Linked DNA regions of Homo sapiens: region 1 is linked to region 2. Evidence: promoter capture Hi-C in 16 types of primary human blood cells and fetal thymus (Javierre and others, 2016). All regions are on one chromosome and are shown on one strand. Each heading gives the region's core, a stretch centred on a gene start or on the middle of the fragment in contact. The rest is flanking DNA. Distances are from core to core; before and after follow the strand shown. Region 1 has its middle 59 kb from the start of LINC01912. Region 2 holds the start of DSEL (dermatan sulfate epimerase like).

The links. The method cuts DNA at HindIII sites, captures the fragments that hold promoters and counts their contacts. A CHiCAGO score of 5 or more calls a contact.
Region 1: a fragment that was not itself captured here is called in contact with the fragment with the promoter of DSEL in region 2 in 1 of 17 cell types (fetal thymus); the score reaches 5.1 in fetal thymus.

The regions. Positions count from the first base shown.
Region 1 is chr18:68,202,776-68,209,420 of GRCh38, reverse strand. No RefSeq gene overlaps it. Among named protein-coding and RNA genes, the nearest start is that of LINC01912, 59 kb to the left of the region's middle. The HindIII fragment of the contact is 3,234 bases long and covers 194-3,427 here.
Region 2 is chr18:67,514,766-67,521,850 of GRCh38, reverse strand. It overlaps DSEL (dermatan sulfate epimerase like), which reads left to right and starts at 5,131. Exons shown (of 2, transcript NM_032160.3): 1 at 5,131-5,490; 2 at 6,359-7,085. DSEL-AS1 (DSEL antisense RNA 1) reads right to left here and starts at 5,305. Exons shown (of 5, transcript NR_033921.1): 1 at 5,102-5,305. The HindIII fragment of the contact is 6,208 bases long and covers 4,073-7,085 here.

The DNA of each region.
Region 1 (6,645 bases), core at 561-3,060, 690 kb before region 2:
TATCTCACAAAGGACTAATGTCTAGAATCAATTAGTAACTCGAACAAGTCAACAAGAAAAAAAAGTAATCCCAGTAAAAAATGGGCAAAGGACATGAACAGACTCTTATCAAAAGAAGACATAAGAGTATTTTGAAAATCTAAAGCCATTTCCTGATTCTATCACAGCCAGACCAGTCCCACTCCATTAAGCTTGCCTGCTATTCATGAAATGTGGTGCTTGTAGCACTCTAGCCAAAATGAATTTCTCACAACTTTCCTTCTTCTTCACATCACTGACCCCTCATTTGGTGTGGGCTAGATGTTGAGGGTTATGAAGAAAAAGAGTATTTGGTGTTTATTTTTATAATTGGAAGAATGAGTGAGCCAAATAAGTTTGCTGACCATGCATAGGAAAAGATTCAGATATTGGGTGATGGTAATGTCCACATCACTTCCTATAACATTTAATTTCCATCAGGAGAAAAAGTTATGGTTTCAATTTGATGGGAATAATTATGTTAAAATAAAACAGATGATATTGTTTATGAATTAGTTTCTTATTCCATTAACAAAATCTCTACCTACTATACTGCTTTACTACTTATTTTGATGGCTGGAACACCTCAGGAAAGATTAATTATATTGAAGCAATAAACTTTTTACATCTACTTATATTTAATTAACTGGAACATTCTAAGTTGTATCATATTACTAAAAAGTATGTTTCTTTGTAGCAATTTAGCTTAAAAAATATATATAGCCATTCCTACAGTCTGGATATTTGTCTTCCCAAACCTCATATTGGAATTTGATCCCCAGTGTTGGAGGTGGGGCCTAATGGTTGAGTGATGGGAACAAATCTCTCACGAAGAGATTAATACCCTCCTGGGTGGGGGTGAGTGAGTTTTCACTCTATTAGTTCTCAAGAGTTAGTTGTTTAAAAAGAGCTTGCCACTGCTCCCCTCCCATCTTCCTTGATCCCTCTCTGGCCATGTGATCTCTACACCTGCTGGCTTCCCTTCACCTTCTGCCATGAGTGGAAGCAGCCTGGGGCCATCATCAGAAGCAAATGCTGGTTCCATGCTTCTTTTACAGCCCGAAGAACTATGATCAAAATAAATCCTGCCTTACATATTCCTTTATAGCAACACAAAATGGACTAATACAGCCATCAAGACATAGTTTTTACTAAAAAAAATAAAAATTGTGTAATAACATATCTTAATTTTCCTAATACATCTGAACTTCTTGTTTTTCCAAATATACTAAGGAAAATATAAAAATGCAATACTTCACTGAACATGAAAACAGAATAACTTTAACATTTTGTGTTATATAATAGTCCCCCTTATTTAAAATGAAAAGTTTAAACATAGTAGATTATTAAAATGTTTTATTTTAAATTGAAAGAAGTGTGAATTTCAAAATAATTTTCAGGCTATAATTAAAGATGGAGATTGCAATGTATAATGTTAAATAGTTACATTATGAAGTTGATCCTTTGTTTTCATTATTTTTACTCACTAGAACCAATCTCATATTGCCTTATGGAATTACTTGCATGTCTAAAATATAATGTAGATGGCCTTTCTTATTAACATAAAACAGCTTGATTTATAATGAATGTATAGCGAGTTAAGAAGCATTACTAATTTTTCTTTTGGCAAATTAATAGTTTTGACATTTTCTATAAATGTCACTCCATGAGGAAATCATTAGAAGTATGATTAGTGAGTAATTTATTTGATTTAAACTCTTTTTAAAAATCCAGTCATGTATTTGAAGCCTGTACAGTAATCAGAATTATTTTTCCTAAAACAAATACATGTTAAAAAGTGTGAATCTATTTACGGTATGCTTGAATATTTTAAACCTATACACAGAGAGAGTATACATACATTTGGAGAATTAGTGTAGAACGAAGTCCCTTAATTTAATGATATAAATATAATTTATGAGACTTTTGCTTATGATTTAGACCCATTGTTTAACTTGCATTATGTTTTTCTTATGTGCTGTACTTCAGAAGTTTAATGGAAATATGATAAAATATAAAATTTTTGCAGTAGAGAGCATTTAAAAATATTTCTCTATGAGTTCAATCGTTTTATTTTTTTGTTTCCACCAATGAGTGGGAATCTGTTATTAAGAAGATTCTCACTGTAACACCACAGTCCATCTAAAATTGTGACATAGCGTAAAGTCTCAGAGCTCCATAGTACTCTAAAAAATGTTTACTTCAATGTTTATATTTTAACAATTGATACAATTTAGCAAATTGGTAAAGTAATAAATGATAAAATATTAAATGTGCAAAGATGATAGAGTTCTAAACTTTTATATACTTAATAGCATAGCCTCAAAATAAGTAAAGCAAACATTGACAAGATGACAGGGTTAATTTAAAAATTCCTGTGTGGCCTAGCATATTGGCTGGTCATGAAATATTTATTTCATTTATTCTAAATCATAGAATTGTAGCCAGTCACAAATATTCCTTTAAATTTTGCATATTTATAACTGATTTTATTGTGCCCTTTATTATTGAAGGATAGCCTAGCTGAATCTAAAATCCTTGACTTACATTTCTCTTTCTTTGACTATTTTGTAAATATTATTTTCTTGCTTTCTGGCATAAAATGTTGCTGTCAGAAATCTGATGACAATCTGATTTTCTTACTCTTAGGAGAAACTTGGGAAGATTTACTGAGTCCGTGTCTTACTGTTGAATATCATGGGCTGATTTCTCATTTACACATTCTGCCTTCTTGTATGTAGGCTCAATTATTTTCAGCAAAGTTTTAGATAATTATTCTCTTAAGTGCATATTGTGTCCTATTTCTCTGCTTTTCTGTTTTGGGGACTCCACTTACTAATATCCCATTTAGAACCAGCTTCGTGGGTGTCCAATGAATGCAATTGTGCAGAAACCCATGCTTAGAAGGACTTCATGCTTGGCATTTGGCTGTCCTTGATGTCTTAATGATTCTATATTTTACTATGTATTGAATAAGTGAAGTCAGACCAGACAATGGAGAATGTGTAGGGCTCTTGAGGCCTCAGTTGACTCCCTGGGATGGGTTCTTGGCCATCAGATTCTCCATCCTTCTGTTCCCCCTGCACAGCCCAGCCATCTCTCCCCACACACCAGTGACTGCTGCGGTCCCTGCATTTGGCAGGGGACTGATCAGACAGAGCAGGATCAGGGAAAGTCAGCATCAGACACATGCATCTCTGGATCTCAGAGTGTGGCAGGAGCAGAAACACCATGGGGCATTGGACAGGCGACTGGCTGGGTAAGCCTCTTGCCAACCCTTCCAAGTTACCCAGTGAGTCTGGCAAGGAGGTAGCATACTCTTGCATTAACCCCTCTGCTGCCAGTTAGAAGGACTGGTTATGGGAAAAAGTGATGCCAAGTTGGATTTTCCCTACCTATCTAGGAAGCTTATTGGTTCAGCGGCTGCAAAGCGGGGGATCTCACCCAATGAACCACTATCGACAAGGTGCCTGATGGCACTGTGAGAGAGGCCAGGCACTGTGAGAGTCTGCACTGACCTCACCAGAACCCCCATGACCAGGGGAGCATGACATTAAGTAGCAAATAAAAAACACCATCACTGGTTGAGAAAGAGACCTCAAGAGAAATCATAAAACCTTCATGTTATATTACCTTTAACGGTAATTTTTTCCTACTTTGTGAACAAGGGTCGCATATTTTCATTTCGTATTGGGCCCCACAGATCATGTAGCCGGTCCTAATACAACCTTCTTTGGCCAGCTTCTACATCGATTTTCACCCTGAAGGCTTTTCGTTTATTTTTTGCTCATGTTTATTTCCTCTACTTTTCTATTCTCTTTTAATCACCGCACTTTTTGTGTTATAAGTTTGGTCTTTATATGCTTTTTATTTTTTATTTTTTTAATTTTTTTTATTATACTTTAAGTTTTAGGGTACATGTGCACATTGTGCAGGTTAGTTACATACGTATACATGTGCCATGCTGGTGTGCTGCACCCACTAACTCATCATCTAGCATAAGGTATATCTCCCAATGCTATCCCTCCCCCCTCCCCCCACCCCACAACAGTCCACAGAGCGTGATGTTCCCCTTCCTGTGTCCATATGATCTCATTGTTCAATTCCCACCTATGAGTGAGAATATGCGGTGTTTGGTTTTTTGTTCTTGCGACAGTTTACTGAGAATGATGGTTTCCAATTTCATCCATGTCCCTACAAAGGACATGAACTCATCATTTTTTATGGCTGCATAGTATTCCATGGTGTATATGTGCCACATTTTCTTAATCCAGTCTATCATTGTTGGACATTTGGGTTGGTTCCAAGTCTTTGCTATTGTGAATAATGCCGCAATAAACATACATGTGCATGTGTCTTTATAGCAGCATGATTTATAGTCCTTTATATGCTTTTTAGTTTCCACTTATGATATATTGAAATTTCTCATTTTATAATTTTTCTCTGAGTATATCAGTTTTCCTTTAAACAAATTCTTCTTGTCTGATTTTCTCAACTCTGAGAGCTTTTGTTTTTGTTTGTTATTTGTGTTATTTTTCATTTCTCTTAGCTTTTTGGTAAAATTAGTTAAACATTTCATCTGTTTGGTTTCACATTCTTCTTGTATGTTTTTATCAGCTATAGGAGGGTTATATGACAATTGTTTATCTCTTCTCATGCACTACTAGGTGCCTTTACCTGGGCAGAAAGGAAAATGAGAGAGCCTCCTGTTTCAGTGTTCATGGCTCAAGTGCTCTGTCCTCTTGTTATAAAAGACTCTAAATTTGGTCTTTCTGAGCAGTCTGTTCTTTTTCTGTCAGCCCTCAGCCAGCTTCAAGGAGACTTGTCCAAGCCCTTTGTTTCCAAGAGAACCACAGTTCCTACTTTCCAAGGCACTGCTTACATTTAGATATTTTATTTTGCTGATGCACTACTTTTGAGATCTTCTTCCTCTGACCTTCTCACCCTCTACCATTTGAAGATTTTGTCTTTTTTATTCCTAGTTTACCTGCTCTGTTAAATCTGGATCTTACCAGAAAAAGATTTTCTTCAACTTAATATTTGGTTTATTGAAAGGGGATATATAGCAGATGGCTCTCAAAGTCAGATTGCATGGATTAAAAAATTTTTAAAAGGAACGGAACACCAGCATATCCATTTAATCATTTAAAATGTAATAAGCATTTAAAAATACTATTACAAACTACACTCAACGACTGGTCACTTTTACAATACAAGAATACCTATGGTCTTGTTCTTTAGTCAGGGAGTGGGGAATCATTCCCATCTGCTAAAATTATCCTGGATAATTGCAAAGTAAGTAGTGTTACTAACATCAAGTTCCTTACAATTTTAAGTCGTTCTTCAGATTTGACTTACCTCTTCATTATTCAATATGATCTCTATCTTTGTGCAGACAATAAAATATTCTCAGCTTGTCTCCTAACTTTCTGGCCATGATCTAAGTACAAAGTATACAACCATGTTGAAGTTTTTGCTGCTTTCCAAAACAAGAAATAAAATGAAGATAAATAACTGTTTGAGGATTATATTTTTTCTAAACAATAGACCAGCATCTTCACTGCTCTGTTGACTTGTAACAGAACTGACTGTGGCACTGAAAAGCACAGAAGGAAGAAAGATGAAGCAATTTCTATTTAAGGGCAACAAAGAGAGGAAGAAACTCCGAGTTTCCATCTAGATGGTGTGGTTCTTTATGGCAGCCCTTTTGTGTAGTAAGGGAGATATGTAAATCTAGTGTTTTTAAGTCAAAGCAAAATTTTATTCAGAAGGCACATTTTTATAAAATGTGGTAACAGATATAATATTTTATGTCTCAAAGTTGAACAATGTATTAACTCTTCAAAAATGAATTAAAAAATTGCAGTAGTCTTATTTATTTCCTGTTCATAAGCTCTAGTTTTTTTAACTTATATTTTTAACTGACACATAATTATTATACAGAGTTATGGAGTATAGTGATATTGTGATATTGTGTACAGTGATCAGATCAGGGCAATTAACATATTCATCATCTCACACTTTTATTATTTTTTGATTAGAAATATTTAATATCCTCTTGCTAACTACTTGAATCTATCTTTTCTGGCCTTAAACTATTTTATATTAATATTTTATTAATGCAAATTAATATAAGCTTCTATATTATTTAAACTTATATATATATTATTTGAACATAAACACAAACCTATTTACAATTAATTATTAACAATGTCACTGGCTCTAGACAAATTATACATACAAATAAAATTTAATGAATTATGCAGTCATAGAGGCACAATGCTGTAATAACTACTGTAACAATCATCCACTTGAGTTTGATGTAACTAAGCAAATACTTCCCACTATTTTTAAATTTTTTTTTGCTTGTACTGCTCAGCTTTTTAGTTCATAAAACTCATCTTTCTCAAGGTTCGCTCCAAGCCTCTACAGAATATAAGGAGGCAGATAAGATGTAACCTTTTAGGTTGACTCTTAAAGTCATTGTGAATATTCTCTTTGTCAGGTTAATATGTATAACTTTCTCCTTCCCTCATCAGTGGGAACATTTCTACGCAGTAAAGCATGCCTCAGGCATTAGGGGGATTTCTAAATCAGTATCATAAACACTGTATTGATGAGAAAATT
Region 2 (7,085 bases), core at 3,882-6,381:
TCTCAAGGCAGGAAATTCCAGGATCAAGGTGCCAGAAGATTCTGTGTCTGGGGAGGGCTTACTCTCTGCTTCCAAGATGATATCTCTTGCTGAATCCTCACATAATGGAAGAGGCAATAAAGAAATGAACACTGTGTCCTCATGTGGAGGAAGAGATGGAAGGTGCTATGGTCTCAACGTGTTCCCCCAAATCCAAGTGTTGGAAACGTATTCCCCAATGCAACAGTGTTAGGAGGTGTGGCCAAATGAGAAACCTGTTTAGTTCATGAAGAATGGATTAATGCTCTATAAAAAGGGCTGGTGGGAGTGGATTCTCTCTTTCTCCTCCTTTTCTGCCATGTGAAGATATAATGTCCTTCATCTCTGGAGGCTGCAGCTTTCAGGTGCCATCTTTGCAGTAGAGAAACTGGGCCCTAATCTGCCAGCACCTTGACCTTGGACTTCCTAGCCTCCAAAACTGTGAGGAAATAAATTTCCATTCATTATAAATTACCCAGGGTCAGGTATTCTGTTATATAAGCACAACATAGACTGAGACCAAAAGGCCAAAAGGAAACTAGGGCACCTTTTTTTTAAGGCACCTCTTTTATACGGCACTAATGTCATTCATGAGAAGAGGACTTCCCAAACGGCTCCACCTCTTAATACTACCAATTTGGTTCCAACATGTAAATTTTGGAGGGACACATACATTTTAGCCATAACGGCTGGCTCTAGAACAAACTGCAAATAGGTAATTGGCAAGTCAGGGGGACAATTTAGGAATTGATTTGAACTACCAACAATTAGCACATAATCAATTTTTAGAGTCAGTGGGATGGGTCAGAGTTTCTCATTCTCAGCAGTACTGACTTTCTAGTCTGCATAATTCTTTGACTTGTGAGGCAGGAGGAGAGGAGAAGTTGTCCTGTTCATTGCAGGCTATTTAGTAGCATCCTGACCTCTATTCACTAGATTCCAGCAGTCCCTCCCACTAACCGAGACCAACATTGAAATTTCTCCAGACATTGCCAAATGTCCTGTTGAGAAACACTGGTGTAAGGATACCAGGCCAGGGGAAAGGGAGGGTGGAAGAGCCCTGGAGAAAACATCTTATGATCCCTTTGCAAGTTTTACTTTGTTTAAATTTTTCTTTCATATCAAAAGCTAAACTGTATGTAAGCAAATATGGTAGCAATAAAGCTTCTCATTTATGAATTCAAGGCTTTAGTAGACTTATGGGGAAACTTTTTCCCCCAGAATTTGGCTTTGGTATTTTTAAGTTTTAATAAATCTACTTACTGTCATACTGACTCTTGTGCAGCTGGATAAACAAACTCAAGAAACACTCTTAGCCACATCTTCATTAGCAACTCTGCAGGCAAAATCCCTGTCATTTTGAGATGTTTTGTATTCAAAGCAATTGCGGAAAAAAAAAAAGTATTTCCAGACTCTACTGCCTGCTTTAAACTTGTGGTTTTGTCTTTATTATTGGTGTGGCCTATTACTGCTGGCCAACTGGGCAATAAAATTTGCAGCTTAAGTTTGGTGTCTGTTTCTAAACAGTTACAGATGCTATATCCCTAACCTCTGGGGCAGACACTAGTTCTAATACTGCTAGTGGATCAATATAATATACATCTGGCCCTGGTAAGTGGTTCGAGAAATCTGCATCTGAGCTTTCACGGCCAAAGCTGTAGCAAAGGTGGATTATGCTATGAGAAGAATAACAAAGCCGTCTCCATATTCAAATGGCTATGCTGCTTGAAAGCCCAGGTATTGGAGACCTGTGCATAGGAGTTGCTGAATGCACAGCAACTAGTTCTTGAATGTCTTGGCCCCATTTATTTAAAAACCACCAGAATAACAGATCATGGACAAATGTGATTTTAGATCAGGGACTTTATGTAGTGTCTAGGCTTGTTTTATGGCTTGTACTTTATCGTTCTCAGGCTCAGAGCTTGAATTTGCCTATCTTAACATATACAATTAATGCAGAAATCCTCTTGAAAATGTTGTATGACTTTCCAGTCTCATGTTTCACTTGAATTAAGTCACCTCAAGGCATAGCTCCAATTATGGGTTGTGTGGTAAGAGGCTTCTCAGCACAGTCAGGAGAAAGAGTGTGTGACTCTGCTTAGAATGTAGTAACCCACTTTAGACCTTTATGACTTTTTCTCTTCTGTCATAAAATGGGGGCGATAATTCATGTTAAACATTCACCAAACATTTTTCAAAAAGTGCCAGGCTCTGGGATAGATGTTGAGAAATAAAATTTTAAAAGAAAAATAAAAGAGAGAGAGAGGAAGGAAGAAAGGAAGGAAAGGAGCGCGAGAAAGGCTTCTGTTCTGGAGAATCTACTCTAGAAAGCATTGTTTCTGTTGTAAGATAGGTGGTTGTGGGTAGGTTGAAAGATAGGCAAATAAAGAAAACAGATTTTCATAAGTACTTTGAAATCACGGAGTAAAATCTCATGTAGATTTAAGATCCTTTTATATAGAGAGAAATCCCCAGAGCAATAGACTGCACTGTTCTTCACTTACATTAAAATAAGATACTGCTCCAGGATTCTGAATTTAGCAGCTGTTGGTACATGTGTCTCTTGCCACACTCATAAAGGTTTTTAATGTACAATAACATAGCATATAGCTCATCCCTTCTATGGTCGGATGCATTATTTATAATTAACTAACTTTGTACCATCTTCATGTGTGGAAGGAGCAATAATTGGAGCTATCCATTTTTAGTTCACAGAAAACAAGACTCTCTTCATTTTTGACAGTGCCATTTACCTACCACCCTTTCTGCCAATGATTTGAATTGTTCAGTTGTGGCTCTTGTTTTATTTTAATGCATTCACATTTTACCACTATGCAAAGATGTCTGTTCAAAATGAATTAGTCTGAAAGCCCATCTGAGAATGCTGGGAGGCTAGCTGCATCCCCACTGCTTCAGCACAGATGCATGGGGCAGAGCTGAAAGGCCACAATGTCGGTACCTGAATTCATTCTTCTCTAAAGTGAAAATGATCATACTGATATTTCAAAATCTGAAAACAACATTGGAAGAATATTTGCCTGGCAGATGTTCGCGCATTAATTCTCTCTGACTCACCTTGCCCTCGCATCATGAGACACTTTGAATCCATAGAAATAACCCTGCCCCACACTTTGTTCTGAGAAATGTTCTGTACATCTAGTAGCTGTGTTTACTAACCCTAAATTCTAGGCTCCCCTCTGCAAACAGATAGGAATCTCTGGAGTCAGCTCCCCGTTTCCCCCAACTCTACTCTCTCATAAATGTGGTTGGAGGCCATGGGTCCTCTTCCTCTATCAGGGGCCATGTAGAGGCACAATCCAGATTTTACAGGAAGTTGTGTCAGAAGAGGATCCTTGTTTGGGAATAAACCTCAGTGGAGGAGACGAGGCTCTGTATCAGCCCAATTGTTCGAGGTTCAACTCATTTCAAAAGCAGATATAGTACTTACAAAGGGGACTTGAGTGCTACTCATGACTTGAAGGAGTTTTGAATAGGGTACAGGAGTCAACCAGTTGAAATAGAAAGCAGAAAATAAACAACCTAAACGGCCGAATATAGGTACAAATGATATAGTTCTGGAGTAATACATTCTGGCTAGGGAAACTTAGGAGTTATTTACAGAAGAATGTAAGCATCTGAGTTGAGACCTGGATGATCAGATAATTTCAACAGTCAGAAGAATTTTAACTAGTAAGTGGGGTGGTTGGGTAAAGGACACTGTGAGGGAAAGAATGGAATAAGCATAGTTACTGAAGCACCCAAGCAAAAGCAAGTGTGGCTATTTGGACTGGGCTAGGGGTTACTACGGGGCCAAAACAGAAGAGTGATGAGGAGTTAGAGGCCACATTTCACCTCAAAGTTAAATGATTTGAAATTTATTCTGCTAGCAGTCGTCTACTGTTTGATTTTCAGCAGCAAATGATCTAAGCAAGACATTTATTTTTAAAATGTTAAAATATATCTTATTAAATATTACCAAAATAGTATGGGAAATGAAGAGACTGAATGTGTTACTAATCCCCAACTGAGAATGGAATTGTTCATTTGTGAAGCTTGATATTTCCCTGTATTTTTATTACTACTAAGCTATTATTTTTTACATTTGAGGTCAGAGCTTGGGTTGGTTTATGCCAAAGTGTCATCTCAGCTATCTGTGAGAAGCTCCATGTGTGGAGTGCAACAGGAGTCCCAGCCTGCTCTAGGATTTCCACGACCTGGCACTGCACTCACATGTCGTAGTAGCCGGGGCACACTGCCTTCTCCTGTCTGCATGTAGGTCTTTACCGAATACCAGGTCCCATTTTTAAATAAGAGGCTCCTTCTACTTGTTTGTCCCATGCTTCCCCTATTTATACTGCCTGAGAAATTGTTTTCCATCAGTAAAGCTGATTAGTCTTTTCTGTTTTCCCTTGATCTTTGTTAGCATCTGGGCTACAGAAGTTGTCCTCCTATATTAATCTGGGTATTTCGGTTTTGCTTTTCCAAAGGACAGCAAGCTCAGCCAGGCTGCCTCTCAGTTCCAAGGGAGTGCTCATTCCCTCCTTCCCCAGCCCTTGCTCTTTCCAAAAGGATGATTTCTGTCGTCCCAGGGCTTATCCCCTCCCACTCCAGCTCCTCCCATCATTTGAGTCAATCCCACAGCCCCCACTATGGCTCTATTATATAGTTGTCGTCTTCCCATAACCAAAAGGTTTTAACGCCAGCCTGGCAGCGTCTTTAGACTCTCGCACTCCCAAACTGTCCCCTCCTCCAGCTCGACTCCTCCGGGAGCGCGCGGCCACCGCTGCAAGCCCAGAACACAAACGCCTAGAGCTTCCTCCGCTTAGAAACCCGGGGCGCTTGGCCCCGCCTCACCTGCTTTCGGCCCCGCCCCGCCCGCCGCCGGCCTGCTCACGGCTCCTCCCGTCCTCCCCGAAGCCCCGCCTCTGACCCCGCCCTGTCCTGTCTCCGTCCCGCCCCACGCCCGCCAGCCAGCGTCGCTGTCTCTCGCCTTCCCTGAGGCCCCGCCTTCAGCCCCGCCTTCAACCCCGCCCCGTCCTGCCTCCGCCCCGCCCCCGCTTGCCGGCCCGCGTCGCCGTCTCACCCTCCCCGGGCTGCGCGGCCGGAGCTGGCACAGAGGATCCTCGGCCGCGGCGACATCACCGCCTGGGCACGCGGGCGCTGCTCTGGATACGGCGCCACCGAGAGAACCCGCCGCCCGCGGGTCTCTGTCCTGCGGTCCGTGGTTGCCCCCACAAGCGTCCGGCGTTTCCTGAGGGCGGGCGTGTCCGGGCCGTGCGGGTCGCGGGGACCGAGCGCGGCTGAGGAGACCGAGCTGGGGCAGCGCCTGCCGTAGCGCGGGAGACGACGCGGGGGTCTTGCGGAGCCCCGCGGGAGCCTGGCCCGCCGTGCAGAGCAGTTTTCTGGAACTCTCCACCTCCGTCTCCCTTGGGGCCCAGTGCGGCGCCGAGCCCCCGTCGGGATCTGCCTGAGGTAAGCGGACTTGGTGGCTCAGGGGTCTCTCGCCATCCTGCCTCACTCAGCCCCAGAGCGGGGAGCGGAGAATGGGGGCGGCAGGGTCGGAGGACGCCAGTGAAAAAATGCAACAGGCGGGGCGGATCAGGAAACTCCTAGCCTGAATGTTTCCTACAGAGGGGAGACTTGTCCAAGACTGAAACTTGCTTAGGTTCTTCCAGCCGCGGACGGGCACGGAGAGGCGTCTTTCGACACCGGGGTCCGAGCTCCCTCTGGCGGCTCCACCTGAGGACAGGGACTCGGCCACAGGTGAGCGCCGAGCGCGGAGCTCCCGCCCCTCGGCTTGGCGCCTGGTCACGATTCGCGGTTACCCCGCCGAGAAAAGTGACTGGTCCGAGTAGTTCTCATTAGGAAGATACCTTCTGATCCCATGAACTCTAAACCTTCCCCCGGAATTAAAAAAAAAAAAAAAAAAAAAGATCTTTTCAACTTTCAGTTTTTTGTCCCTCGGTCCTTGGGAACAAGAAATAACAAGGATAGCAGGACTCATCTTTGTGTAAACTGCATTTGAATACAAACATTTTTTAAGTGACTGAAGCCACGTTAGTGGCGTTAAACTATAGATATTGTCGGGAGAGTTCTATCTTGTATATTTTGTATTGTTAGTTGCTTGTCTTCTGCTGACGGTCACTGGTTTCCAAATAAGTGCGTGTAAATGGATAAGAAAAAAATCACTTGCCCTAGCTTAGGTTGCAGATAATATGAGATTTTACTGTGATTCTAAAATTTCTATTAAGTGATTGCAGAATGTTTAAGTCATCAGTTTATATTCATTCTCAGCATACCTGAAGCCTCAGAGAATTTTTATTTTGTCCCCCATCCCCAGAAAAGTGTCATGAAAAAAGAGCAGAAGAGAGACCTCACTGTTGCTGAAAGGGGAATTTTCTTTCCCCGTTGGCGGTTACTTCATGATCGGACGAGAAGTATCTAGGTGACTGAAGATATTCCATTTTTATGTTTGTACACATGAAGCTGATAAAAGAAGATGTGAACATGATTTCTCTTTGTCATAATAGGCTGATGAGTAAGTAAGCCTGAAAAATATTTGAAATGAAGGCAAGAATTTTGAATTTTTAAAAACCAACTAAGACTTTGATCACTTGTTGAGGATGTTTCTCTCTCATAAATGAAAGAAAAACGTATTCACAAGACAAGAAGTATAAAAAGTTGAGAGGAATGACAACTGAGTCCACTCACTCGAAGAATGTCAGTACTTCATCATCTTCTTTGGGCAAACATACACAAATGCATCATACATGTGTGGTGAGCTTATCACCAGTGATGGTTTTCTGTGCTAGAAATGACTCTTAATTTGAATTTTGGAGTGCTTTTTCTCTTTTTTTACAATGTGTGTTCCAACTCTTTGTGTTAAATAGATTTAAGTAAAGGAGGTAAATGCTAAATTCATAGTGTTTTTTACCTGTATCACTTCCCTGTGTATTATGGAAAAATTAGAGATTTTAACGTTATTCAAAGTTTTACTGGAAGCAAAACTGTGCCAGGGACAGAGATATACAATTTAAGTTTTCTCTTTTTGGCAACTGCACTTGCTT